2 separate regions of the Homo sapiens genome follow, and region 2 is linked to region 1. The links are contacts of gene promoters, found by promoter capture Hi-C in blood cells and fetal thymus (Javierre and others, 2016). All regions are on one chromosome and are shown on one strand. The core of a region is centred on a gene start or on the middle of the fragment in contact, and the rest is flanking DNA. Distances in the headings are between cores, read along the strand shown. Region 1 holds the start of LRRTM1 (leucine rich repeat transmembrane neuronal 1). Region 2 overlaps CTNNA2 (catenin alpha 2).

Region 1 (2,700 bases), core at 52-2,551:
GTTGGAACTCAGCGTGAGTTCCTTAACTCGGCGCAGTTTCTGAAAGGCGTCCCCCTGCACGGAGCAGATGTGATTGTGATCCAGATAGAGCCACGTGAGCTGCATTAACCCCGTGAACTGGCCGGCGCGCAGCTCCGAGAGGCTGTTGTAGCGCAGGGACAAGCCCAGCAGGCCGGACAGGTTGTGGGGCGCCTCGGTGAGGTTGAGCGCCTCGCAGTACAGCAGCCGCCCCTCGCACCGGCACAGCTGCGGGCACCCGCTGGGGGCGGCGGGCAGCATCTGAAAGCAGGCCCCCAGCAGACACAAGACCACCCCCGAGGGCCTCCTCAGCAGCCAGTATAGACAGAGACCGAGCAGCAGGAAATCCATTAGCGAGAATCTTTCCAGAGAGACTGGAGAATGTCCATTGGAAGCGCTCGGTCAGAAATCTACATCATATTTTATTCCGAGGGAGGGGAAGCGGGGGAGGGGGAGAAAAGGGCAAAAAATCAAATAAATACATAGAAATAAAGAAGGACCCCCCTCCCCAAAAACCACACGTTCACCTCTAAGCATGCAGAAAGCTGGGCAGCATAGAAAGTTCACAGCCACGGAAAGATCAAAGAGATGGTGATTTGGTCCATGTTAGATGCTGCAGCAAAGAAAAGGGAGGAAAAAAAAAATCTTCGGGAAAGAATTTAATTAAAAAGTGTCTTACCCACCCTTTTCCAGAGAGTGACAACCTCCATTCAGCTGCTCCCTTTGTGTGCAGGCTAATTATATGCAGGGCGAGAGAAGACCCCTCTGTGTTTCCGAGGCAGCCCCGGTCCGCGGCCGGCGGATCTGGCAGGCGCACAATGTCTCACTTTGCTGCTCGGCTCGGGGCTGCAAGGGCGGCCGGCAAGGCGGGGAGGCGACTTCTAGGACCCGCAAGTTTCCCAACTACGTGCCGGAGCCCGAGCTTCGCCTTCCTGCCGCCTTCCTTTCCCTCTGCAGTTCGGACTGTGACGTTGTGGGGGGAAAAAACTCCAAACTCGGGGCTCGCGACTCCCCAGGATCTGACAGTCTGGTTAATGTCCGTCATTGGAAACGACCACTGACCGGCGCCACCTTTTACTCCGCGGAAACAGCCTGCCATTCGCGCCCCGGGCAGCTGCAGAGAGCGGGCTCACTCATGCTTTGCGGGCGGCGGGCGGCGGGCGGCGGGCGGTGGGGAGGTGCGGACGGCGGCGCGGGGAGCGGCGAGCGGCGCCCGGGCTCCTTCCCTCCACCAGGCAGTGTGCGGCGCGAGCTTGCACAGGCACCTACTGCTCACTGAGTGTCGTAAGCTGCTCACGATTGTGCGTCTTCCCCGAGCACCTCAGACATGGGCAGATTGAAAAGGGGTGGGCATAAAACCAACATTTTACCGAACCACTAAAGTAATATATGTTTTTTGATGAAACGGAAAACACTTTCAGCTTTTTTGTCCATATTTCAAAAAAAAAAAAAAAAAAAAAAAGGAGGGGGGAGGGAGGTGGAGGTAGGGGTAGCATCATCCACGACAAGATATTTCCAAGTGGGAAACTGAAATGTTCTGTGCTCTCCCCCTTGCCTTTTGGGGATATATTCTTTTCCCCTTTAAAACTGTCTACGTGTAAGAGATACGTAGGAATCTGTAGAGAAATCAACGTTTGGACCTTTGCTTTAGAAAAGCAACTTGAGAGAAGACACAGGAAGGCAATGATTTGGGGCTTGGCTAAGATTTTTGGGGTTTTTTCCCCCTCTTGCGGGTACTGGAATTCTGCAGTCAGCCAGCCCTTTTTTGAGGTGGAGAGGGGAAATGCTTTCCAAACCCACCTAGTTTGGGAAGCCATCCAAGTCCCGGTGGTGTGAGATCCAGTGTGGCAAAAAGGTATGTCTGTGTGCAGGGAGACTTGACTGAGATCCCTCCGGGGCTTCATCAGGCTCCACAGATACATATGGGGTACAGAGTGGATTAAAGAACGATTGTACTGTCTGACATGGGGAGGGCTTACCCTGACTTGTGCTGTTCATGGTGATTACTGGGCCCTGCAGTGCACCCCACTCCAAGAGAGTGTGAATGTGTAGGGACGTGATAGTTTAAGCCATAATGAAGCCTACCCGTCTCCATACACACATCCTAATTAATCTTTGAGACTGCACTAAGTTGTGCCACTTTTTCCTCTGAGTATGACGAGAAGCCTTTGCCTCATTATTTCTATTCATAATCATTTATAGATAGGAGTCCTTACAATGAGCTCTCCCCCCACCTCCCCACACACACACCTTGTGCCTACTGGTCTGTAGAGGGTCTGCCCTGGGGAGGGTCAGTTGGTCATCTGTTTAAACAAAGTCCTCCAAGATGGCTGAGAAAGCCTGCGGGAAGTGAGTGTGGGCAAGCCTTCCTTCTTGACAAAGATGCCCAGGGAGATGGTAGGGAGAGTCAAATGTGAGTCTCCAGCTCCACTGTTTGAATTCCCATCGTTTCTGCCTCTAAGGAAGTCAAAATCAGTAGGCATTATATGTAGTGGCACTTACTTTGATAGGAATGAGGGTGGATTACCAGAGCCAGGGTAGATAGACTGGACAAGTAACTGGATTGGTCCTTAGCATCTAAGCTGAAGAGGCCAACCAATGGAATCAAAGTCACCAAAGACTGGTGGTACTTTTCAGGAAAAGTCATATGAACAGGGGCATGAATCATTCCATTTTGTATTC
Region 2 (2,700 bases), core at 156-2,655, 210 kb after region 1:
AAGAAACATAGAAACTGAAGACCTAATTTACTTCTTGCTCTGCTTTGTGGAAAATAAAGCAGAAGGGGATGATGGCCAAGGTCTGGTGGCTTCAGCCGAAATCAATTGAGGCTTCAGATTCCATATGAATGGCAAAAGCCTCAGTATCACTGAATTGCATGTCTGTTTCATCCTTACAGATGGGACAAAAACTTGCCCAAATCCAGATCAAAGGAACCAGTTTTGATGGTTTTTGCTAAGGTCTGGGTGTGTTTTTCCTTATCCACCTCTCTTTCACACTATTCTGTCTCTTCTCTCTCTCTTTCTCTACTCCTTTCAGGTCAAGTGTATAGATGACCTCCTTCTCATTACGGACAACAGTGGGATTCATTATGCAGAACATATCTCCCTGAGGCAGAGTGTGTGAAGCCACCCAAGCTTAACATCTCTGGGGCAGGAAGGGGATGTGCTCAGGAAAGCCTTTGTGTCCAGACTGAGCTGATTGGCTAATATGCATCTTGCCTTTGGCCACCTCATGCCATGAATATCTAAGCAACATTGGGTTTTTTTCTCAGGGCAGAAGCAGAGAGATGGAAGATAACAGAATGGTGTTTGTTACCCATATGTAGGATGCTATTTACATAAAAGCCGCAGAAGCTATGTGATTTCCATGCGGTCCTTACCGTTTTGCCTCAGCTGGGTACCTGTGCAGGCCAGGGTGACTGGCTGCAAATGAGCTTCCTACTTGTCTCACCCTACACAGCTCTGCCTCTCCCCATTAATGCTCCCCATCTGGTCCTCAAAGCACCTCAAATAGGTCCAAGATTAACTCTGGCTGAGGGGAGGAGGTCATTTTTCAAACATGGTTAAGCACGTGGCAGGGGCTGAGAATATCAACTTTTCTTTCTCAGGAACATGTGAACTTTTTTAGTGTTAAGCAACACCTGAAAACTATTCATCTTAATGCAGAGTTAGTTTATACCCTGAGAAAACAGGATTAACCATTCACAGTCCTGATCATCTATGTTTAGTTCTCTCTGTAGTCTTTGGAAGTTACCTGCCAAGGACAGAATTTGGTCTCAAGTGAGCAAGAAATACAGACAAATTAAGTGCCAGATTCCACTTTTCTAACAACGGTAAATTAATAGTCCTTACCTAATGGTGTTCTTTTTACTTGAGTTAAGGCATAACTGAAGTTTTCTCTTCCATGTGAAATCAGAAGAGATTTTTATTTCTTTGCTTCATTCCTCTCATGAGGGGTAAGTTAAGTTTTGTTTTTGGTAGAAACTTCTAAGTTCCAATTGCTTTCTCTCACCCCACCCCTCCCCAGAAAACAATCCTCCTGTTTGTCTGAAATGAAGAAGGAAGGCAACTTGGTGCTGCACAGAAAGGTAAAAAGAGATGGATGGGAACATTTGTTTCTGACCTTCAGCGAAAGAATTCAGTTAGGCACTATAAATTTGTTTTCTGCAAATGGGAGAGCATAAGTGTGCTCCATCAGGGTGGAGGAAAGCATTTGCACCCAAAACATGGAACACAAAATAAATCGATCAAATTAATTTTTGGCTGTCAGCCCTGGAGGCTCATTTCCCATCAGCAGTATCAGGAGGAAAAGGAGCAGTTAACTTGTAATGATTGGGGAAGGTGGGGACCACGGATGGATTTGCTCAGGGGCACTGCAAAGGGTGCCTTGCTTTCACTCTTCCCACCAAGAATTTGCCTTGTCTGTAATCACAGTGGTCTGCTGCTGCCATGGAGGAAGTATGTAAGTTGCCCTGGGGCCCAGCTGTGCACTGTTCTGCTGGCCCCAGTCCTTGACCTTATCTGTAGGAGTTACTCCTTTGAGTTAAAGGATGACAGGACCACTTACAGGCGTCTATTAATCTTGTGTAACTGTATACCTTTTGCCAGGCAAGGAACATTCCTAGGGGATGGGTGATGTCAAGGAAGTGTTCATTGAGGAACTTGTAGAGAGAATGTCTAGAGCCGAGAGTAATATTGGGGAATCCTGCCACAAAATGGTGCTCAGGACAAGTTTTGGGCCACATAACCCCAAATCGTTTTAATAACATTGGAGGCTTTTTGCATTGCATCAACACTGAGTCATTTTCTGGACAATATTTATTTTACTGTTTGTTGCCTAAACTTGGTCTGCATGATTACTTTACTGATCCAGGAAACTCATTTTATGATCAGAGTGTATTGAAAACATTGGCTTGTCAGTATGGATCACACTAACCAGATATTTGCCAGAATTCACATCCCTAAAGTATGCTATTTCTAGGGATTACAAGTAAAACACCTTCAGGTGACGGGCAGTAAATGCAAGCATTTGCTCCAAGGCAAGACACCAGACTTGCCATTAGACTGCAGATAGCTGGAAATGCTGTCCTTCACTCAAAGACATTTATATTAAAAGCTTTGAATTTGATCTGTGATTTGACAATTTGAAATCTCAATGGATTATTGAGGTGATTCTTCAAGCATATTTTTCATATTCAGTTAAGTAAATGATGAAATATTATTTAGTTAAAAGCAGAGTGAGCTGATGATCTCTAGTGGATGTGGAATGTTATAATGGAATAATTGGATCAGTCTGGTCTTCTGGTATTGGAACATCATTTCCCCAATCTGTCAAGTTCTCCCCTTCTTCCTACACCCACAGAAGCACAGATTTTGGTTATTACACTGGGACGTCTCCAACTGTCCAAGAACATTCCA

The links. Contacts are between HindIII fragments. The CHiCAGO score rates a contact against its expected background, and 5 or more counts as called.
Region 2: a fragment that was not itself captured here is called in contact with the fragment with the promoter of LRRTM1 in region 1 in 1 of 17 cell types (endothelial precursors); the score reaches 5.3 in endothelial precursors.

The regions. Positions count from the first base shown.
Region 1 is chr2:80,303,451-80,306,150 of GRCh38, forward strand. LRRTM1 (leucine rich repeat transmembrane neuronal 1) reads right to left here and starts at 1,302. Exons shown (of 2, transcript NM_178839.5): 1 at 702-1,302; 2 at 1-428. The coding sequence starts at 369. The region is part of intron 7 of CTNNA2 (catenin alpha 2); the gene reads left to right. RefSeq lists an enhancer at 119-744. The HindIII fragment of the contact is 8,902 bases long and covers 1-2,700 here.
Region 2 is chr2:80,515,710-80,518,409 of GRCh38, forward strand. All of the region lies in intron 9 of CTNNA2 (catenin alpha 2), which reads left to right. Among named protein-coding and RNA genes, the nearest start is that of LRRTM1, 210 kb to the left of the region's middle. The HindIII fragment of the contact is 1,981 bases long and covers 416-2,396 here.